Regions from separate parts of the Homo sapiens genome. Here regions 2, 3 and 4 are each linked to region 1. The links are contacts of gene promoters, found by promoter capture Hi-C in human tissues and cell types (Jung and others, 2019). All regions are on one chromosome and are shown on one strand. Each heading gives the region's core, a stretch centred on a gene start or on the middle of the fragment in contact. The rest is flanking DNA. Distances are from core to core; before and after follow the strand shown. Region 1 holds the start of SETD1A (SET domain containing 1A, histone lysine methyltransferase). Region 2 overlaps ITGAM (integrin subunit alpha M). Region 3 has its middle 8.2 kb from the start of ITGAM. Region 4 has its middle 9.8 kb from the start of SRCAP.

What was found. Contacts are between HindIII fragments. The study calls those that stand out against the background at their distance.
Region 2: a fragment that was not itself captured here is called in contact with the fragment with the promoter of SETD1A in region 1 in 1 of the 25 tissues and cell types used here (spleen).
Region 3: a fragment that was not itself captured here is called in contact with the fragment with the promoter of SETD1A in region 1 in 1 of the 25 tissues and cell types used here (lymphoblastoid cells).
Region 4: a fragment that was not itself captured here is called in contact with the fragment with the promoter of SETD1A in region 1 in 1 of the 25 tissues and cell types used here (dorsolateral prefrontal cortex).

The regions. Positions count from the first base shown.
Region 1 is chr16:30,954,710-30,960,366 of GRCh38, reverse strand. It overlaps SETD1A (SET domain containing 1A, histone lysine methyltransferase), which reads right to left and starts at 2,613. Exons shown (of 19, transcript NM_014712.3): 1 at 2,403-2,613; 2 at 1,486-1,650; 3 at 1,181-1,276. The coding sequence starts at 1,635. It overlaps ORAI3 (ORAI calcium release-activated calcium modulator 3), which reads right to left. Exons shown (of 2, transcript NM_152288.3): 2 at 5,429-5,657. RefSeq lists silencers at 1,905-1,994, 2,135-2,354 and enhancers at 2,955-3,084, 2,542-3,305. The HindIII fragment of the contact is 8,587 bases long and covers 1-3,530 here.
Region 2 is chr16:31,264,265-31,269,921 of GRCh38, reverse strand. It overlaps ITGAM (integrin subunit alpha M), which reads right to left. Exons shown (of 30, transcript NM_000632.4): 3 at 4,424-4,527; 4 at 4,041-4,111; 5 at 3,775-3,892. Among named protein-coding and RNA genes, the nearest start is that of ITGAM, 7.1 kb to the right of the region's middle. RefSeq lists enhancers at 4,075-4,554, 3,669-4,868. The HindIII fragment of the contact is 5,038 bases long and covers 1-4,894 here.
Region 3 is chr16:31,248,903-31,254,559 of GRCh38, reverse strand. No RefSeq gene overlaps it. Among named protein-coding and RNA genes, the nearest start is that of ITGAM, 8.2 kb to the left of the region's middle. The HindIII fragment of the contact is 7,042 bases long and covers 1-5,657 here.
Region 4 is chr16:30,686,543-30,692,199 of GRCh38, reverse strand. No RefSeq gene overlaps it. Among named protein-coding and RNA genes, the nearest start is that of SRCAP, 9.8 kb to the left of the region's middle. The HindIII fragment of the contact is 5,824 bases long and covers 253-5,657 here.

The DNA of each region.
Region 1 (5,657 bases), core at 1,364-3,863:
TGTTTTTGAAAAACCGCAAAGCGTTATGGTGTGGATGTAACACAGGGGTGTGGTGTCAAGGCGGAGGATAAGGCTTGGCCAGGTCAATAACCATACATGTCAGTGTCCCAAAACATGGACTTGGCAACAAAAGGAAAACAGCAGCGTAGTGAAGCCAAAGAGACAAATGACAGCAAGGCAGAGGAGAAACTGAGGCAAGAACGAAGGCAAGGAGACCAGGTGAAATGAATACCAAGGTCTACATTAAGTGGCAATGAGAATAGAAAGATGAAGAATAAAAAAGAAAAGAGCCAGGAGGATTCGGTGACCAACTGAGAGAGAAAAGGAGAGAATCACAGGCTGCCAGGCTGTACAGCTGAGTCGATGGTACTGCCACATATGAGTAGAGGGAAAATGAAAAAGGTAGGTTAAGGAGGTAGATAATTTGTTTTAAATCCCTTAAATCTGAAACATGTGTGGCCTCCAAATGAAACTGTCCCCCTACCAGGCATACAAGCCTAGAGATGTTGGCTGGAAACAGATACTTGGAAGTCATCAACATTTAGGTAATAGTTGAAGCTGTGGGTGTGAAAGAGATTGTCCAAGTGAAGTGTACAAAGTAAAAAAAAAAAAAAGAAGAAGAAGAATGAAGGGACCCCACAAACAATTTATTTAGAAAGGAAGAATAAAGAATCAGAGAAGGAAATGAAGAACCACCAGTGTTCCAGGCCCAGTTCAAGGCCTGAAGAATATCTTGTCTAGGGTGGAGAATAGGAGTCCTCGAAGGAAACAAGAGGGAAATGACATCGCCAAATGAGAGGCGGGGAATAGTGCTACCCAGGTAGGCAGTGGCCTTGTCACTCCCCTTGACTGTCAAGGAACTGGGAGATCCCACTCTTGTGTGCTATGATGCACTGTCTACGAATATACAGTGATAGGTATAGCAGCTAAAGAGTCTTTACCTCACCCTTCAAGAAGTCGACACCCCAGCCACCAGGGATACACTTAGGACACCTGACCTGCACCTTTCTGGAAGATTAAGTGTACCTCCTATCCAAAACAACTGAGTCTCACAGCCTCAGAGGTTGCTAGATCTGGCTGAGATCCTTTCATTGGAAACCCTTTTATTCAGCTATAGTGCCAAGACGCATCCTCCACACCCTCTTAGGACTACCACACCAGGAGCCCAGCAGACACTTACCTTAAACTTAGGGACTGGGAGGGAAAAGTCTCTGTTTTTGGACCTGACATGGCAACGGGGGTCTTGGAGGTCTTCGACTGGTATATACTTTGAGTCCTAGGAAGGAAAGCAGCAGCAGAAAGAGAGCTCAGGGTGAATCCAGGCTAGGGAGCTCCAAGCAGCCCATCTGGACACACACATGCAGAAGAGCTGGGTCCAACTGCCCACTTTCAAGAAGGCAGGCTACCGTTCTAGGTGCTGAACAGAATCACAGAGGACGGGCGCCTGGAGCTCCCCGGATGGCAACCAAAGACCCGGGCACTCACGTTGACACTGAAGTGGACTCCATCATAGCGGTACACCTTCTGAGAAGGCCTGCGCAGGGCAGGGTCCAAGGCAGGATCCACGATGAGCTTGTAGTTCCGCCACTGGAAGCTCGGGGCCTTCTGCCCATCTCCCCCACCTTCCTGATCCATCTTTGCTCATTTACACTGTTAGGGGAAGAGGGACACGCAAGAAGGATCAGGACTTGGGGCCTGACTCCCCTGCCTTTCCTCATTGGCTAGCCCCGATTCCAGGTTCTCCCATCACTCCAGTTTCCAACCCTCACCCTGACCCGGGGCTCCCCCGGATTCTCCCCCAAGTACCCTCTGTTTCGCCACAACAACCCAGCCTCTTTCCACCTCCCAACTCTACTGTCAGGCCCCCAGGCCCGTCTCGAGCCCCCTTACCTTCCCGCTCTCCCTAGCGCGCGCCCCACTTGGCCTCGGAGCAAGACCCCTCCCCCGCCCCCTGCAGGCCCCGCCCCCTCCCGCCTCCTCACCGGCCAGCGGCCCGGGCCGAGCCCGGCCACGGCTCCCACACACCCGCTCTCCTCCCCGCGCCCCGATCCTCCGGCCGAAAGGTGGCACCTCTTCGGGGCGTTGGAAACACCGCGAGACCGAGCCCGAGACCCGGCTTCGACCCCGAATCCGGGCGGGGGGGTGGGGGGAACGTGCACCGCTGCCCTCTCCTCCCGCCCCGGCGCGTTCTGCACCCCCCCCAGCAGGTCTCCGCGCACGCGCGCCGCGCGGCCCCACTCACCCGCTCCCGGCGAGCGGCTCCCCCTCCCCCCACCTCGCGCGGCACCTCAGCGGCGCGAGGCGGCGGCAGCGGCAGCGCGAGACCCGGCCCCGCAGCGGTGGCGGCGGCGGCGCCCCCCCACCACCACCTCCCCGGCGCGCGCACCAAACACCACTGCCACCTGCGCGAGGCCCAGCGGGCACAGGGTCTGCATTCGCACTTTCGCCACAGGCGCTGCCGGGGGACCCACGGGGCCGAGGGTAGCGGCTTCGCCTCGGCCGGCGCCCTGGGAGGCTCGGAAGTTGCGGCCCAGGGAGCTTGGAGATTGGCCGCATCCCCCGGAGAGTCGGCTTCGCCACGACGATCTAGATGCTGCGGCCCGGGACCTTGACGAATCGGCGGCGACGAAAGCTGCGACTAGTCCCTGAGGAAAAGGGGCGGGGCGGAGGGGAGGAGGCCAGCCAGCGCTGGGGAACCTTCAGTGGCGCGTTCTGCAGACGCAGATTCACCGGGCGGGCGGGGCGAATCGCTGGACAGGATGCGCGCCGCTTTGCTTCTCTTCCCCGTCCCTTCCTTGCACTGCCAAATTCTGAGAGGCTGCAGATTCGCCACTGTTCCCGGCCTCAGCCGTAGCCTCCCCTTCATCCGCCTTGGTGGAGTCAAGAAAATAACGGCCCGTTAGCCAATCCCTGCTGGCAGAGTCGACAACTTTTTTTGGATTTTTCTTACTGGCCCAAGTGAGAGAATAGCCCGCTTCTGTCCCTGGGGAAAATGCCTCCAGCCCAGCGCTCCTCTCAGAGTCCGATGAGAATTTTCAGCCGAGTATCGAGGGACCCGAGGAATTCTGAGGATCCGACCTGGCGAATCTGCGGATTCCGCTGTGGGCGGGGCCGAGTCAAGGGGCGGGGCCAGGGCGTGCAGAGCCTGGGACTAGGGGGCGCCTCCGGGAGGACCCACGAGGACTCACCCGGATGGGAGGGACGGCCGGGAGGTGGAAAAACACAACCGTGAGCGGTGACTCAGGCGGTTTGCCCCGCCTCGCACATAAATGCAGGGTACCTTTCCTTCCCGTTATTGCCCTTGGGTGTCTGGCTGCTTAGGATGCCCATTTGCCAGATGGGGAGAGTGAGGCCTGTAGAAGGTGCCCTACTTTGCCGTACTCAAACCCACCATTAGTGGTTAAATCCAGGGACCGCCTCAAGGTTTTCTGATGAGCCTAGTGGGGCCTAAGTGCCCTTAAATGGGCCTTGTAATAATAAACGAGGTCCTACAGGAACGGGACTGGACTGGTGTGTCCTCCTGGCGTCATGGTCCCACTGCCCGCTTCTTTGGCTATGGCGCCCTATGCTCACGGGATGCCTCCGCACAAGGGCAGCAGCGGCCCAGGCCTACCCCTGGAACTCGGGCTGAGGTTTCTGAAGGCTGGGCACCGTTTTGATCCCGTGTGGGCGCAGGCACTCCCAGGAGGTCCCTTTTCCTGAGCTGAGGATGCCCCAAGCTCCTGATATGTGTACATCAGGCCCTCGCTATATGGCCTTGGGCAAGTCATTGACCTAAGTTTCAGAGTCTTCCTTTAAACTTGGATGTCAATTTGTACACATCCGAACAGTGCAGAAAAGACCCTTAGAGCCTGGTTTATGCAAATTCACCATTTTAAGTAATAGGAAAAGGTGGAAGGGAGACTTATCCAAGGTCTCACACCACAAGATAGAAGAAGATTAGGACTCTACAATTTTGAGGGAAATAAGGCTGAAAAAAATAATTTACGTGGAGGCATAGGTGTTGAGATCAGATTCCTTTCTGTTCCAGTTGAAAGGCACTGGTTCCTTTTCTCAAATCAAAGAGAGATTCCCGTGTGAGGGGTAGATAGTCCAAGTTCAGTTTCATGGACTAGCTGTGTGGTTTTGGGCAAGATCTTCAGCCTTCTTGGGCCTGTTTCCTTATCTCTGAAATGAAAATGATAAAGACTTAACGCTTAAGGTGTTGTGAGAGTTAAATAAGATAACCTATGAAAGTCCCCTAGTATGTGGTAGTTGCTCAAGAAAGAAACTTGAGGCCAGGTGCAGTGGCTAACACTTGTAATCTCAGCACTTTGGGAGGCCAAGGTGGGAGGATCACTTGAGCCCAGGAGTTCAAGACCAGCCTGGACAACATAGTGAGACCCTCCTCTCTACAAAAAAAAAAAAAAATTAATTAGCTGGGTTGGTGGGACGTCCTGTGGTGCCAGCTATTTGGGAGGCTGAGGTGGGAGGCTCATGAGCCTGGGAGGTCAAAGCTGCAGTGAGCCAAGATTGCACAGCTGCACTCCAGCCTGGGCAAAAGAGTGAGACTGTCTCGGCTGGGCGCGATGGCTCACACCTGTAATCCCAGCACTTTGGGAGGCCAAGGCAGGGGGATCACTAGGTCAGGAGATCAAGACCATCCTGGCTAACACGGTGAAACCCCATCTCTACTAAAAATACAAAAACAAAATTAGCCGAGCGTGGTGGTGGGCACCTGTAATCCCAGCTACTTGGGAGGCTGAGGCAGGAGAATGGCGTGAACCCAGGAGGCGGCGCTTGCAGTGAGCCGAGATCATGCCACTGTACTCCAGCCTGGGCGACAGTGCAAGACAGAGCGAGACTCGGTCTCAAAAAAAAAAAAAAAAAAAGAGTGCTTATACTAAACACTCAGGGAGGGCTGGGTGTGGTGGCTCATGCCTGTAATCCCAGCACTTCGGGAGGCCAGACAGGTGGATCACCTGAGGTCAGAAGTTTGAGACCAGCTTGGCCAACATGGCGAAACCCCGTCTCTAATAAAAATATAAAAATTAGCCGGGTGTGGCGGCACACACTTGTAATCCCAGCTACTCTGGTGGCTGAGGCAGGAGAATTGCTTGAACTTGGGAGACGGAGGTTACAGTGAGCTGAGATCGCACCACTGCACTCCAGCCTGGGCAACACAAGACTCCGTCTCTAAATAAATAAATACTCAGTGGAAGAGATAGAGACTCTGAACTCAGGGACAAGAGTTCAAAGCCTGTAGCCTTGGAATAACTCTCCCCATTCAGAAGCTGTTGGCCCTTGTTAGCATCTGACAGGGTTACACCTGAAACCCACTCCCCTCCCAGGTCCTGTCCACCCAAACTTGCCACCACCCGGCTCTTGGGAACAAGTAAAGTTATCCTAAGAAGGCCTGCCCTGCATCCCCTTCACAGCAACAGGGACATCTGTGAAACACGATTTATTATATAAAACAAGGTGCATCCAAATTCAGTGTCAGAAGAGCTTTGTATTTCAAGGGCTAAGGACTGGACCTTCTCCCTTAAAACCTCCTTACCCAACCCTTGCTAAGGACTCAGGCCTGGGGCAGAGGCTGTCAGTCTCTAAAGACCCCAGCCCTGGACCAGGACGGGGAGAACAAGTTTGGTGCATAGCGTGGGGCTAGGGCAGTGGGT
Region 2 (5,657 bases), core at 1,126-3,625, 310 kb before region 1:
CTCTGGATTCCCATTGGATTTGGCAGATGAGGGGGCTCAACAGAAGACTAGAGGGAGGAGGGCAGTGAGGTCCGGGTGTTCTCCCATTGAGGTTGTTTGGGGACAGCTATGTCCTTCACAAAAGACCAACTGTTCCTCAGAAGGAAGCCAGCTCCACATGACTCTCTCCAGACCCTGGTGAGCTCTCCCTCTCCTCAACCCATAAACCCAGGGGTGGCAACAGACCTGCTTGCCCAGGGCTTGGAAAGTCCCTGATGGCTCCCTTAGGCCTGTCACAGCTTTATAATTACTCCCTTTATAAATAAACCCCCCTCTTTGTAAATAAATCTTACTGAAACCGCCTTTGCAAAATTATGACTGAGACAGTGAAAGAGATCTAACTTAACTGATTCCATCTTGCTTCTAACCTCCAAGCTGTCCGTGTTCATTCCTGGGTGTAGGCTGAGCTAACTTTGGGAGACACTTAGTTTATAGTTTATAGTTTATAGTTTAAACAAAGATCGTAACAGCCCTTTCCCAAAGCAGACCTCCTTCTTACCTGGGGACTAGATTGCCTTTGTAGGACTAACGTTAGCCACAAGATGAGAAATTATGATTTAGGAGTCATGCAGCTGGAGGCTACAAGATTCTGACCCTCCCTAAACTGCTCCTAAAATCAGTGCTTGAGATATTTTGCAGACCTTGCACTTGATGGATCAGCTGGCACTGCCCAGATCAATAAACTGGTTCATCCGATCTTGCTGCCCCCACCCAGGAACCAACTGAACGCAAGAAGACAGCTCCGACTCCCGATGATTTCATCCCTGATCAATCAGCACTCCCAGCTCACTGGCTTCCCCCGCGACCTACCAAGTTATCCTCAAAAACTCTGCCCCCAAATGCTCGAGGAGACTGATTCGAGTGATAATAAAACTCTGGTCCCCTGCATAGCTGGCTCTGTGTGAATTATTCTTTCTCTATCGCAATTCTGCTGTCTTGATGAATCGGCTCTGTCTAGGCAGCAAGCAAGGTGAACCCCTTGGGCAGTTACATTACTGGAATGTGCTTTTGGTCCCAGTTGAGACTCCTACTGATATATGGGACAAGGGCCTCAAAAGGATTCTGGCAGAATCCAGGAATGCCGTTTGATGGAAACAGCACTACAGGGACAAACGTATGTGACGGCGATGGAGACACAGCGGTGGCATCAAGCAAAGAGCAGCGGGCAAGGGCCTTTCTACTCCAATAAGGAGCTCGACTTTATCTGTAGGCAATGGGGAGCCACAGAAGGTTCTTAGAAAAGGAAGTGAGATGATTTGTTTTGTATTTTAGAAAGACTGGCAGGGCACAGTGGCTCATGCCTGTAACCCCAGCACTTTGGGAGGCCTCCTGAATAGCTAAGACCACAGGCACACGCCACCATGCCTGGCTAATTGCATTTTTTGTAGAGATGGGGTCTCATTATGTTGTCTAGGCTGGTCCCAAACTCCTGGCCTCAAACAATCCTCCTGCCTTGACCTCCCAAAGTGCTGGAATTACAGGTGTGAGCTACCGCACCCTTTCGAATTTTGAACCAAGTGTATGTATTATATATTTTTTAATAAATGAAAACTTTTTTAAAGAAGTAGTCTTGAACCCTGAGAGTGAGGTCTAAAGAGGGAGAGGTAGAAGTGTTAGCTGAAGCCACAGAACTGGGTGATTTCAGGAAAGAAGAACACGTGGGTGAAAAGAGAACCCAGAACCCAGTGCCCCTAGGTGGAGAGGGAAGCTGGAGGCCAGCCGGGGGTGAAGAGAATGCACTCAGGAAGCTTGGGTGGTGAGGGTGAGGAGAGATGGCAGGAGATGAGGAGGAGACTGGAAGAGAGAAGATTGTTTTCATGGCTATCGATTGTGGTGGTTGATTGCTTTTCAGATACAGATAGAATGAAGAGTGTTTACAGCCAGAGGAAGGGGGAAGTTAATTGTCCTAGAGAGAAAACAAGTGATTCAAGAGATGCTGGGCCAGGCGCAGTGGCTCACACCTGTGATCCCAGCACTGTGGGAGGCTGAGGTGGGAAGATCTCTTGAGCCCAGGAATTCGAGACCAGCCTGGGCAACAAGGTGAAACCCCATCTCTACAAAAAATACAAAAATCAGTATATGCGCACCTGTGATCCCAGCTACTCTGGAGGCGGAGGCACAAGAATTTCTTGAGCACAGGAGGCAGAGGCTGCAGTGAGCCGAGATTGTGCCACTGCACTCCAGCTTAGGTGACAGAGCAAGACCCTGTCTCCAAAAAAAAAAGAAAAAAGAAAGATAGGTGATCACCTTAGTTGGTGCATGAGAGACTCTCAAAAGCCCATATGGAAGAATTTAGTCATGGGACAGAGGAGAGACAGGTCTTCCTCTAAAACGAGTGAGTCACTGCCAGGAGTGCTGTCATTATGGAAATTTGAGAAAAAGGAGAAAGTGCGGTGTTACAGCTCCTTTAGAATTTGTCAACAAATTCCAGTGAAGACTGGAAAACCGCTTATTAAGATAAAATAAGAGAAGGGGAAAGTGGAGGGAGTCCATGCCTGAAGCTTTTGTTTTCTCTGTGGAGGAAGGAGGATTAACTGTGGAGGGTGAAATATAGAGGAACAGGGCTTGAGAAAGAAAAAAAATGCAAGGGAGAAACATTCGCCTGTGGTCCCAGAATCAACATGAAGACAAGCAAAAAGATGGCATAGCCATCGAACAAAGCAGTGGGAAAAAGCAGCTTGAAAGATCCACGCACTCTGGCCAGGCATGGTGGCTCATGCCCCCCACTCATTCCCTGGCTCATTCCCAGCACTTTGGGAAGCCAAGGTGGGCAGATCACCAGAGCTCAGGAGTTCGAGACCAGCCTGGCCAACATGGTGAAACCCCGTCTCTGCTAAAAATACAAAAATTAGCCGGGTGTGGTGGCGGGCACCTGTAATCCCAGCTACTTGGGAAGATGGGGCAGGAGAATCGCTTGAACCTGGGAGGCAGAGGTTGCAGTAAGCCAAGATCGTGCCACTGCACTCCAGCCTGGGTGACAGAGCGAGACTCTGCCTCAAAAAAAAAAAAAAAAAAAAAAATCCATACAGTCACTCAGAATCTCAATCAACAGAGGTTTGGGGAACAGGGGTGTGGAAGGCCGCCCCCCAGGATGGTCCCCAAGATTCCCACCTCTTGCCAATGACACCTTGCACCATCCCCTCCTCTGCAGTGTGACCTGGACTTATTTTTTAAAGACAGGGTCTTGCTCTGTCACCCAGGTTGGAGTACAGTGGTGCAATCATAACTTGCTGCAGCTTCAACTTCCCAGGCTCAAGTGATCCTCCTGAGTAGCTGGGACTGCAGGTGTGTGCCACCACGCCTGGCTAATTTTTTTTTTTTTTTGTAGAGACGGGGATCTCCCTATGTTGCCCAGGCTTGCCTTGAACTTGTGGCCTCAAGCAATCTTCCCACCTTGGCCTCCAAATAGCTAAGACTACAGGTGCTCATCACCACACTCAGCTAATTTTTTTTTTTTTTTTTTTTAGAGACAGGATCTCACTACATTGCCCAGGCTGATCTCAAGCTCCTGGGCTCCCAAAGCTTTGGGATTGCAGGTATGAGCCACTGTGCCTAGCCAAGGCGTTTTCCTAAAGTACAAGACCCTAGCACCTCCCTAGCTTCTGACTCTAATGGGACCCAGTTCCCCCACTCTTCTGCACCCAGAGCCCAGACCTTGAGCAGACGTCACCTCAGTCCTGCCCCCTCCCCTGGTCTTTTGCTGCGCATCTGTTCCCTCTGCCAAAGGCAACCCACCTCGGAGGGCCTCTGGGAACTTCTGGGGCTGCTGCCGTAGGTTGGATCCAAACAGGAAGCAGAGCCCTTTCACATACGTGTTCTCACTGCAAGTCTGGTGCACGGTGGGACCACAGGCCTAGGGGACAGGAGCCAGTGGAAGGGGCTGCCCCTGCTTCCTGTCCTTGTACCCCAGCACCTCCACCCTCCACAAGACCCCCAGCCCCACCATGCGTGGGCCCCCAAACACCCCCATTAGGATGCTCCTCTGATCGAGCCCCACTCACCAGCAGCTGAGGGGGGCTGGTGGTGGCTGCCAGGGACAGGCCCAGGGACATGTTCACGGCCTCCACGGGGACTGCGGGGACAGATATGGGCATGGTCACCCTGGTGGGGGGACAGAGAAGGCTGTGGAAGAGCTGGGCAGGGGTCACCTCCATGCGGGAGACAAGGAGGTCTGACGGTGAAGGGGGATCCTAAATCTTGGGAAAGAAAGGAACACAGAGGGGTTGCCTGGGGATGTCTAGGGTAGAGACTGCAGGCAGAGGAGAGGGTACGGAGGCAGGCACCTGTGTCCCCACCACAGATCCCCAGGACACAGGAGTGCCTGGAAAGTCCCTATGTGTTCACAGGGGAATCCCAGTCCCAGCCCGGCGGGGCAGTGACTCACCCTGCAGGCGGATGGGCTCGCATGAGCCTGTGCTGTAGTCGCACTGGTAGAGGCTGCCCCTTTGGTTGGCAGCCACTATCTCCTGGGGGGCTCCAACCACCACCCTGTGGGGAGAAGTGGGAACAGAGAAAACTTCGACATGTGGGGAGAGAAGGAGACCACAGAGGAAGTTCTGCCACCCAGAGGACGGTGGGGGCCCATACCCGGATTCCTAAATTCCTATGACTAGGAGGAAGAATTAGCAAAGAAAAAAATGGGAAAATGTTAAGACTCAGAATGAGAAAAGGTCTTCCTAAGAATGACACAAAAACCAGAAGTCATTTAAAAATAGGACCAGGCGCGGTGGCTCATGCTTGTAATCCTAGCACTTTGGGAGGCCAAGGGGGTGGATTGCCTGAGCTCAGGAGTTCAAGATCAGCCTGGGCAACATGGTGAAACCCCGCCTCTACTAAAAATACAAAAAATTAGCCACACGTGGTGGTGCGTACCTGTAATCCCAGCTAAATGGGAGGCTGAGGCAAGAGAATTGCTTGAACCCAGGAGGCAGAGGTTGCAGTGAGCCGAGATAGCACCACTGCACTCCAGCCTGAGAGACAGGGCAAGACTCTGTCCCAAAAAATAAATGAATAAATTTTAAAAATAAAAATAGGTCAATTCAAGCTGGGCACCATGGCTCATGCCTTTAATCCCAGCACCTTGGGAGGTTGAGGCAGGAGCATCATTTGAGGCCAGGAGTTTGAAACTAGCCCGGGTAACATAGCCAGACCCCATCTCTACAAAAAATGTTTTTAAAAATTAGCCAGGTATGGTGGTACACACCTGTAGTCCCAGGCCAACCATTTTTTTTTTTTCTTTGAGACAGGGTCTCACCCTGTTGCCCAAGATGGAGTCCAGTGGCATAATCATAGCTCACTGCAACCTCTGCCTCCTGGGCTCAAACAATCCTTCCACCTCAGTCTCCCAAAGTGTTAGAATTACAGGCATGAGCCACTGGACCCGGCCCACACAGTCATTTTATTTATTTTTATTTTTATTTATTTTCTTTCTTTGAAACAGATTCTCACTCCATCACCCAGGCTGGAGTATAGTGGTGCAATCTCGGCTCACTGCTGCAACCTCTGCCTCCCAGGTTCAAGCATTCCTCCTGTCTCAACCTCCTGAGTAGCTGGGATTACAGGTGTGTGCCACCATGCTTGGCTAATTTGTGTATTTTTAGTAGAGATGAGGTTTCCTT
Region 3 (5,657 bases), core at 2,173-4,672, 290 kb before region 1:
ACCCGGGAGGCAGAGGTTTCAGTGAACTGAGATTGTGCCACCACACTCCAGCCTGGGCAACAGAGCAACACTCCATCTCAAAAAAAAAAAAAAAAAAAAAAAAAAAAAGAATAGAGAGATATGTCATCTTCATGGATGACAAGACTACAAGACTACAGATGTCAGTACAGATGTCGGTTCTCCATTTAATTACTCAAATTCATTATAATCTCACCCAGCAGAATTTTTCTAGAATTTGACGTGCTGATTCAAAAATTGACTGGACTAGAAAACACACAGCAATAGCCTATAAAGCAATGGGACATACCTTACAATGTCATGTTATTCCATAACAAGTACCCTATCAAAGCAATATTCTAAAGCCACAGTAGGTAAAAGTACAGTGTTGGCTCTGGAATAAGTATATAAGACCCTCGGAAAGAATACAAAATACGTATGTAGAAATCTGGTGTTCCCATCAGAAACAATACATTTCTCCTACTGAAAAAGCAAACAAGACTTTCTTTGATTCCACTCCCCTCATCAACCACTGCCCATTTTTTACTTCCCTTTTGCAAAACTTCTCCAAAGTAGTTGTCTGTGTTGGCTGCACCCTGTTCTACTGCTCACATCCTCCCTTAACCCCATTCCAACCAAGCCTGTGCTCCAACCCGGCACCTACTCCACCTAAACTATTTTTATCAAGGTCACCAAGGCTGCCTGAGTGACTCCAGTGATGAGTTCTGTCTTCATCTTGAGTGACTCAGCAGCAGCTTCTGACACTCGGCCCTCGCTTCCTGGAACTGATTTCTACATCTGTCCTCTGACCCCACACTCTCCTGCTTCCCGCCTACCGCCCATGACCCTCCTTCTCAGTTTCTCTTGCTGATTCTCCTCTTCTCCCAACCTCTTCAGAAGGATCTCAGAGCTCAGTCCTTTGACTGCCTTTTTTCTTTTTTCCAACTCCTGGGTTCAAATGATCCTCCCACCTCAGCCTCCTAAATAGCTGGTACTACAGGCATGCGCCCCCATGTCCAGGTAATTTTTCAATCTTTTTGTAGAGACGGGGTCTCACTAAGTTGCCTAGGCTGGTCTCAAACTCCTAGCCTCAAGCCATCCTCCCACCTCAGCCTCCCAAAGTGCTGGCATTACATGCGTGAGCCACCGTGCCCAGCCGAAGTCAATTTTCAGTACAGCAGTCAGAGGGATTGTTTCAAAACACAAGACATATCATGCCACTCCTCTGCTCAAAACCTTGCAAAGGCTCCCACGTTACTGATAGTAAAAGCCAGTCCTTTCTACAACCTACAAGGACCTGCATGACCTGTCATCCCAACCCCAGCCCTTACCTCTCTGAGCTTACCTCATTTTCTGGGACAGCAGCCACCCTGGCCTCCTTGCCATTCCTCAAACCTGCCAGGCACACCACCACCTGAAGGCCATGGCACTGGCTGTTCCCTCTGATGGAACCAATCTTCCCCCAGGGATCGGCAGGCTCACTGGCCCACCTCCTTCAAACAAGTGGGTTTTGCATCACATGACTCTCTATACTCAACTTCGCAAACCTTCTTTGCCACATTCCTCAACATTTTCCAGTTTTGCTCTCAGGGGAATGAAGGTATCAGGTCTTCATCGTCCCTTTTCCTGCACAGCACCCAGGGTCACGGCTTCTCTCTTCCCAACAAAATCTCCCAGTCCCACCTCTCCAAATTTCCTTCCTTGTCTACACAGACAAATTATCTCCGTCTGAGCTCCTCCAATTTGCTTCGCTCACCACACTCGAAGAAACTTGCTACAGGATCCGCCCTCCTGAGAAAGTTGTGGGAAGAACAAGAATAAAATACTGTTTTTCCATTGCACTGGATTGTCAAGAAAAGTTCCTGTGATCCTGTCAGGCCTCTGAGCCCAAGCTAAGCCATCATATCCCCTGTGACCTGCATGTATACATCCAGATGGCTTGAAGCAACTGAAGATCCACAAAAGAAGTGAAAATAGCCTTAACTGATGACATTCCACCATTGTGATTTGTTTCTGTCCCACCCTAACTGATCAATGTACTTTGTAATCTCCCCCACCCTTAAGAAGGTACTTTGTAATCTCCCCGACCCTTAAGAAGGTTCTTTGTAATTCTCCCCACCCTTGAGAATGTACTTTGTGAGATCCACCCCTGCCCGCAAAACATGGCTTTTCACCCCCTATCCCAAAACCTGTAGGAACTAATGATAATCCACCACCCTTTGCTGACTCTCTTTTCGGACTCAGCCCGCCTGCACCCAGGTGAAATAAACAGCCTTGTTGCTCACACGAAGCCCGTTTGGTGGTCTCTTCACATGGACACGTGAGACAACCCCAGCTACCCAGGAGGCTGAGGTGGGAGAATCACTTGAGCCCAGGAGATTGAGGCTGCAGTGAGCTGATTGCACCACCGCACTCCAGCTTGGGCAACACAGCGAGACCCTGTCTTAAAAAAAAAAAAAAGTAAGAAAAAAAAGTTCCACCTGAGTGTCATCCTCAGCCATCTGGTTAAGCCTTTGGGTCTGGAATCAGACTAAGGGCACTAAAATCCTAGGTCTACGCCGGGTGTGGTGGCTCACACCTGTAATCCCAGCACTTTGGGAGGCTGAGGCAGGTGGATCACCTGAAGTCAGAAGTTTGAAACCAGCCTGGACAATATAGCGAAACCCTGTCTCTACCAAAAATACAAAAATTAGCCGGGAATGGTGGCACATGCCTGTAATCCCAGCTACTCAGGAGGCTGAGGCAAGAAAATCACTTGAACCCAGGAGGCGGAGATTGCAATGAGCCAAGATCACACCACTGCCCTCCAGCCTGGGCAACAGAGCAAGATCTCATCTCAGAAAAAAAAAAAAAAAGAATAAAAATATCCTAGGTCTATAAGTATGCCCTTGAACAACTTACTCTCTGGACCTCACTGTCCTCATCTGGAAAATGGGGGCAATAATTGTACTAACATCTTGGGGTGATTGTGATAGTTAAATGAGATAATAATAGATGTCAAAGTGCATGTAGTCAACATTCGCTGTAATCATTCTACCAACTGTGTTGGGTTGATGGATGACCTGGCCAGCGCACCCTCGATGACACACAGAGGTAGGTGGCTGAAAGCTGCCTGTCGCTCAGTGGGAAGCATTCTGGATGCTTCCCTTGCCACCTCAGTTGTCCATGCAGCAGGCCAAATGTCTGGCAGGCCAAGGAAATTGTTCTACCACAGGCTTTGTGAGTCCCAGGTGTTTCGACCAAGGTCACACAAAGAGCATGGTTGGCCACAGGTGACTTGCAGGGCAGCGACAGCCATTTCACCATCTCTAAGTTCTTGCCTCCCAACCTTGAAAGGAGGAGTTGCTCAGGGCCTAACCTGAGCAGGGCAGGAAACAAAACTACTAATTCCTGGAATAGGCTACTTGGTACTCAGTAAATCTCATGTTCTACTTGTTCTGTTGTTTTTCCCCAAAAGGCCCTAACTGATGTGTGACTTAACAGAGTTTTTGTAAGGGTTAAATTAAATAATGCATGTGAAAAGCTTAGCACAGTGCCTGGCATGTAAGATGCGCCCCCACCGGCAAAGATGATTATTTGTATTGGTGGAGACTAAGGTTCAACTGTTGTAATAAGACCCAAAATCACAGAGGCTTAGCCCAGACAGTCCTGTGATGGCCCCAGCATCAGCATTTGGGGGTTACGGAGGCTCCATGGTGTTGGAGATCCAGGCTCCCTCCAGCAGGTTGCTCTGCCATCCTGAGGGTTTTGTCTTCATCCGCCTGGTCAAAGACGGCCCAGCGCCAAGTCCACCCTCGGGCTGACAGGAAGGATAAAAAGAAGTGGTGCCTGGCAGGGAGTGGTGGCTCACGCCTGTAATCCCAGCACTTTGGGAGGCCGAGGCAGGCGGATCACCTGAGGTCAGGAGTTCAAGACCAGCCTAACCAACATGGTGAAACCCCATCTCTACTAAAAATACAAAAATTAGCTGGGTGTGGTGGCACATGCCTGCAATCCCAGCAACTTGGGAGACTGAGGCAGGAGAATCGCTTGAACTCAGGAGGCAGAGGTTGCAGTGAGCCGAGCTCAAGCCACTGTACTCCATCCTGGGCAATAGAGTGAGACTTTGTCTCAAAAAAAAAAAAAAAAAAATTGAGGCCAGGCACGTTGGCTTATGTCTGTAATCCCAGCACTTTAGAAGGCCGAGGCAGGCAGATCACTTGAGCCCACGAGTTCAAGACCAGCGCAGCAACATGACACAACCTTGTCTCTATAAAAATTACAAAAAAAAATTAGCTGGGCATGGTAGCATGTGCCTGTGGTCCCTGCTACTTGGGAGGCTTAGGTGGGAGGATCACCTGAGCCTGGGAGGTCAAGGCTGCAGTGAGTCAAGATTGCACCACTTTACTCCAGCCTGGGTAACAGAGCAAGAATCTGTATCAAAAAAAAAAAAAGCCAGGCACAGTGGCTCACACCTGTAATCCCAGCATTTTGGGAGGCCGAAGTGGGTTCACATGAGGTCAGGAGTTCGAGACCAGCCTGGCAAACATGGTGAAACCCCGCCTTTACTAAAAATACAAAAATTAGCCAGCCATTGTGGCGGGCGCTTATAGTCCCAGCTCCTTGGGAGGCTGAGGCAGGAGAATCGCTTGAACCTGGAAGGTGGAGGTTGCAGTGAGCCAAGAGCATGCCACTGCACTCCAGCCTGGGTGACAGAGTGAGACTCTGTCTCATAACAAAGAAAAAAAATGGTGGGAAGGCCCCTTTCCTTTAAAGGTGAGACCAAATGTTGCACACATCATTTCCTTCACATCTCATTGGCCAGGACTTAGTCACATGGCCACACACAACTGCAGTGGTGACTGGAAAATGTGATGTTATCCTAAGTATCTGTGTGCTAATTAATGGGGTTGCATTACTAAAGGAAGAAGAGGAAAGCACATGGGGGCAACTAGCTCTCTCTGCCACATATCATTATCATTACTCTAAGCACGCTCTGGATGAAACATCTTGTACAATTTGACAAAGTAACTATGGTCCTTAGGCATCCTTGACCTGATATAAGTATCATTACTGTCACATTCAGCTCAGGGCCTCTCTATTCAGAGCTTTACAGGCCTTGGGGTTTGGGGAGAGGCTGCAGATTCAACAAGAGCTTTCCTCCAGAAAAGTTTTATGTGCCTTAAATAAAGTGGGAAATTGAGGGAGAGGGGGGCTTCCTGGTTCCACATGAAGGAATACAGAGGTTGGAGAAAGGGTGGAGGCAAAGCCCTGAGGGGAGGCAGGCATCTCTCACTCCAAGGGGCTCCTCAGCAGAGGAGAGAGCCATGGTTAAGCTAAATAGCAACCCCAGGAACACCTCAGCTGTACTTCAGCTACTGGGGACCACAAGCAAGAGATGGACCCAGCTTGGAGTCTAGAGAGAGTCAGGGCATTTCCAACCACATATGGGTACCAGTCATGTGGAACCCCTGCCATCCCTTCAATTCTTTCCTCTCAATCTCTCACCCTGGGGGAGCCACAAACAGAAGGAAGAGAAAAAGGAGGAGAAGTAAAAGGGTGGATCACACACCCTGGCCCCTCAAAGTCCCTAGAGCTAGCATTAAACTGTATATGGTGTGATGACTTGGAGATTATGCCCATCTTTCCACTAGACTCTTCATTCAACAGGTATTAACTAT
Region 4 (5,657 bases), core at 1,915-4,414, 270 kb after region 1:
TCACTGCAGATCGGACAGAGTCACTCTCCTTCAGGTCCTTTCATGGCTCCTGTGAAAACCCTTTCCGAGGCCCCTGGGCCCTGCGTGATAAGCCCTTGGCAGATTATCTAGCCTCATCTCTCCCAGTGCCCTGCACTCCAGCCACTGCTGTCTCTCTGCAGGTTCTTTTCTCTGTTCTGAGCTTTCTCACACTTGCTTCTCTCTTTCCTTCCATGCAGTTACAACCTACACATCCTTAGTCCTAGGACAAAGTCACTGCTTCCAGAAGCCTTTCCTGCCCTCAGACTACGCTATATCTCCTGTAACAGTCTGCTTTTTTTGCTTATCTGCACTCTACGAATAATTCCTTGGGTTTACCTCTGTCTCGTTCACTTTAATGCATGCCCATCTATGTCCACTGTCTGGGGGAGTGCCACGCACATCATAAATATCCACACCTTGGGCTTGGTTGATGCCTGCTTGTTGCATGACGGCAATAGCTCATATGTGCTAATTTTTTTTTTTTAAGGCGGAGTCTCGCTCCCTTGCCCAGGCTGGAGTGCAGTGGTGCAATCTCGGCTCACTACAACCTCCACCTCCCAGGTTTAAGCAATTCCCCTGCCTCAGCCTCCAGGGTAGCTGGGATTACAGGCACACACCACCATGTCCGGCCAATATTTTTGTTTGTTTGTTTGTTTGTATTTTTAGTAGACACAGGGTTTCGCCATCTTAGTCAGGCTGGTCTCAAACTCCCGCTCAGGTGATCCACCCGCCTCGGCCTCCCAAAGTGCTGGTATTACAGGCGTGAGCCACTGCACCTGGATACTATGTGTTAAATTCACTCAAGAAGTATAATAATGACAAGCACTAAGCACCAACCTGTGTATTTACATGAATTAACTCACTTAATTCTCACAATTATGTTACATAGATTGTCGGCCAGGCGTGGTGGCTCACGCCTGTAATTCCAGCACTTTGGGAGGCCGAGATGGGTGGATCACCTGAGGTCGGGAGGTCGAGACCAGCCTGACCAACATGGAGAAACCCCGTCTCTATTGATAATACAAAATTAGCTGGGCGTTGTGGCACATGCCTGTAATCCCAGCTACTCAGGAGGCTGAGGCAAGAGAATTGCTTGAACCTGGGAGGCAGATGTTGTGGTGAGCCGACATCGCACCATTGCACTCCAGCCTGGGCAACGAGAGTGAAACTCTGCTTCAAAAAAAAAAAAAATAGATTACCATCCTTCTTTTATAGATGGTGAAAAGGATGGTTAAGTAACGTCGCAAGTTACGGAGCTGAAAAAGAACAACACAGGGACTGCTGTCAACCCAGAGGGACTTGACTCATTTTTGTGCTTTTTTTTTTTTTCCCCAAGAGATGGTCTCACTCTTTGCCGAGACTGGAGCTGGAGGGCAGTGGTGGGCATCATAGCTCACTTTAGCTTCAAATTCATGGGCTCAAGTGATCCTCCTGCCTCAGCCTCCTGAGTAGCTAAGACCATAGGTGCCAGCCACCATGGCTGGCTGACTTTTCTTAAGAGATGAGGTCTTGCCATGCGCAGTGGCTCATGCCTATAATCCCAGCACTTTGGGAGACGGAGGCAGATGGAATCACCTGAGGTCAGGAGTTGGAGACCAGCCTGGCCAACAAGGTGAAACCCCGCCTCTACTAAAAATACAAAAAAATGGCCGACTTGGTGGTTCGTGCCTGTAATCCCAGCTTCTTGGGAGTCTGAGGCAGGAGAATCACTTGAACCCAGGAGGCAGAGGTTGCAGTGAGCCAAGATTGCGCCATTGCACTCCAGCCTGGGTGACAAGCAAAACTCCATCTCAAAAAAAATAAATAAATAAAAATAAAAAAAAGAGAGAGATGAGGTCCTGCTTTGTTGCCCAGGCTGGCCTTCAACTCCTGGTTTCAAGCAATCCTCCTGCCTCAGCCTCTCGAAGTGCAGGGATTACAGGCATGAGCCACTGTGCCCAGCTACATTTGTGCTCTTAACTGCTGTGCAGTACACCTTGTCAAATCCAGGTCTAGCATCTGAGTCCATCTACCATGTGCCAGGCATTATTCTAGGCACTGGGGAGATAATGTTGGAAACACAAACAAGTAAAACACTCAAGGTTTCAGTTTTTATCAAGCTTACATTCCTGGTGGGAGAAGACAAATAACAAACATATAAATAAGTGTGAATATAAAATAATGATGGTTGGCTGGGCATGGTGGCTTACGCCTGTAATCCCAGTACTTGGGGAGGCTGAGGCAGGCAGATCACAAGGTCAGGAGTTCGAGATCAGCCTGGCCAATATGATGAAATCCCGTCTCTACTAAAAATACAAAAATTAGCCAGGCGTGGTGGCAGGCACTTGTACTCCCAGCTACTCGGGAGGCTGAGGCAGAAGAATCACTTGAACCCGGGAGGCGGAGGTTGCAGTGAGCCAAGATCGTGCCACCGTCACTGCACTATAGCCTGGGCGACAGAGCGAGACTCTGTCTCAAAAAAAAAAAAAAAAAAAAATTAGCCAGGCGTGGTGGCCCCTGCCTGTAGTCCCAGCTACTGGGGAGGCTGAGGCAGGAGAATTACTTGAACCTGGGGGGTAGAGGTTGCAGTGAGCCCAGACTGTGCCACTGCACTCCAGCCTGGGCGACACAGCGAGACTCTATCTCAATAAATGAATAAAATAAAATATAATAATGGCTGATACGTGTTATGAAAAAATGAAGTGGGGTGGATGAGCTCGGGTGAGGGGCAGAAGAGGCATTATTTTAGACAAGATTGTCTGGGAGGGCCTCTCTAGTGTGGTGACATTTGAACAGAGACGCTCTGGGGGAAGAGCATCCTAAGCAGAGGTAAATAAGTACAAAGGGGCCGGGCGCGGTGGCTCACGCCTATAATCTCAGCACTTTGGAAGGCTGAAGCAGGTGTATCACCTGAGATCAGGAGTTCGAGACCAGCCTGGCCAACATGGTGAAAACCCATCTCTACTACAAAAATTTGCTGGGCCTGGTGGCGAGCACCTGTACTCCCAGCTACTTGGGAGGCTGAGGTAGGAGAATCGCTTGAACCCAGGAAGTGGAGGTTGCAGTGAGCCAAGATCATTCCATTGTACTCCAGCCTGGGTGACAAGAGCAAAACTCTGTCTCATAAAATAATAATAATAATAAGTACAAAGTCCCTGAGGCTAGACCCAGCTTATCCTGCCAGGAACCCACCAGGAGACTGCAGGGGAAGGGGAACAGTGGGAGATGCGGTCTTAGAAGAGGATCAGGCCTGCATCTGGCAGGGCTTTGAAGACCAAGCTAAGGAGCTTAGATGGAATGTGAAGTGTAGCAGGAGGGCTTTGAGCAGAGGCCAGATACAACGTGCTGACAACGGACTGTTGGGATAAGAGTCTAAGTGACTGCTGTAGTCTAGGTAAAAGGTGATGGAGATTGAAATCTTTAAGCAGAAAGGGAATGTGGTGGTAAGGTTGACAGATTTAGCAAATAACTCTTCTGGGGAACCTCTGCGAGGAAACTCTGGAAGGCAGTTGTGGGTGGCTGAGGTCCCAGGAGGCTAGGAGAGGGTGCTAGAATACCTCTCCTCTCCACAAGGACTGAAAACTTCTCAGAACACAGCCAAGCACAGAGCCTTCGTGGGTTGAACCCAGCACATCTTAAGCAAACACACGAATCCAAAACATCCCAACCTTATGAGAAGGAAACTGTAATTATGACACCCAGTTCTAGGAAGGGTATGGGCAGCTAGGTGCACACACTGCTGTCGGAGGGACTGTAAGCATGCCCAAACTTTTTTATTTGAATTAAAAAATTATTCGGCCGGGCACGGTGGCTCATGCCTAATCCCAGCACTTTGGGAGGCCGAGGCGGGTGGATCATGAGGTCAGGAGTTCAAGACCAGCCTGGCCAAGATAGCGAAACCCCGTCTCTATTAAAAACACAAAAAAATTAGTGGGTAATCTTGGCAGGCGCCTGTAATCCCAGGTACTTGGGAGGCTGAGGCAGAGAATTGCTTGAACCCGGGAGGCAGAGGTTGCAGTGAGCCGAGATCACGTCACTGCACTCCAGTCTGGGCAACAGAGCGAGAGTCCATCTCAAAAAAAATTAAAAAAAATTCTTGAACCCAGGAAGCTGAGTTTTCAGTGAGCCGAGATTACGCCACTACACTCCATCCTTGGGCAACAGTGAGACTCCACCTCAAAACAAACAAACACAAAACAACAACAACAAAAGGAGAATATTGGCTGAGGTCACATGACATACAATAAATAAGAAAAGCCTTGATCCATTAAGTGACTCACAAAAGAGTGACCATTAAGTACTGCATTCTAAAAAAAAAAAAAAAAAAAAAAGGTGTGTAGAATAAGTACCTTCTGTTTTGTGGTCTTGTTAGAAAAAAAAAAGGAAACAAAACAAAAAAATAGCAGAATGTGTTTGTTAATTCCTGGAGAGTGGTACACAGGTGTTTTTTTGGTGTGTTTTTGTTGTTGTTGTTTGAGACAGAGTGTTACTCGTTGCCAGGCTGGAGTGTAGTGGCGCGATCTCAGCTCACTGCAACCTCTGTCTCCTGGGTTCAAGCGATTCTCCTGCCTCAGCCTCCTGAGTAGCTGGGATTACAGGCGCAGGCCACAGGTGTTTGTTATACTTATTTTTTAAACTTAAAAACAACTGGCCGGGAGCAGTGGCTCACGCCTGTAATCTCAACACTTTGGGAGGCTGAGGAAAGAGGATTGCTTGAGTCCAGGAGTTCCAGACCAGCAGGTGAAACATAGTCAGACCCTGTCTTTACAAAACAACAACTACTGAAAATGTTTTTAAGGTAGAGGTAAAACAAATGTTTGCTTTATCGTTACTATTTATTTATTTTTGAGACAGAATCTCCCTCTGTCCCCCAGGCTGGAGTGCAGTGGGCCTGACCTCGGCTCACTGCAACCTCCTCCTCCTGGGTTCAAACGATTCTCCTGCCTCAGCTTCCTGAGTAGCTGGGATTACAGGCATGAGCCACCATGCCCAGCTAAGTTTTCTGTATTTTTAGTAGAGACAGTTTCACCATGTTGTCCTCAGGTGATCCGCCTGCCTCGGAGGCCTCCCAAAGTGCTGGCATTACAGGCGTGAGCTACAGCACCCGGCTTATAGTTACTTTGGATTTTTTTGGGTTTTTTTTGTTTTTTTTTTTGTTTTTTTTTGAGAAGGAGTTTCACTATTGTTGCCAGGCTGGAGTGCAATGGCAAGATCTCGGCTCACTGCAATATCCGCCTCCTGGGTTCAAGCAATTCTCCTGCCTCACCCTTTCGAGTAGCTGGGATTACATGCACCCACCACAATGAATGCCCGGCTAATTTTTTGTATTTTTAGTAGGGACGGGGTTTCACCATGTTGGCCAGGCTGGTCTCGAACTCCCGACCTCAGGTGATCCACCCGCCTTGGCCTCCCAAAATGCTAGGATTACAGGTGTGGGCCACTGCGCCCGGCCATCTAGTTACTTTTTTTAAGAATGCATGTGTTTTATACACTCTGCTGGTGTGTTATATTTTTCAATTTTTTCCATTGGGTGGGTGCGTGTATGTGTGTGTGACGGAGTTTTGCTCTTATCGCCCAGGCTGGAGTGCAGTGGCATGATCTTGGCTCACTGCAACCGCCGCATCCTGGGTTCAAGTGATTCTACTGCCTCAGCCTCC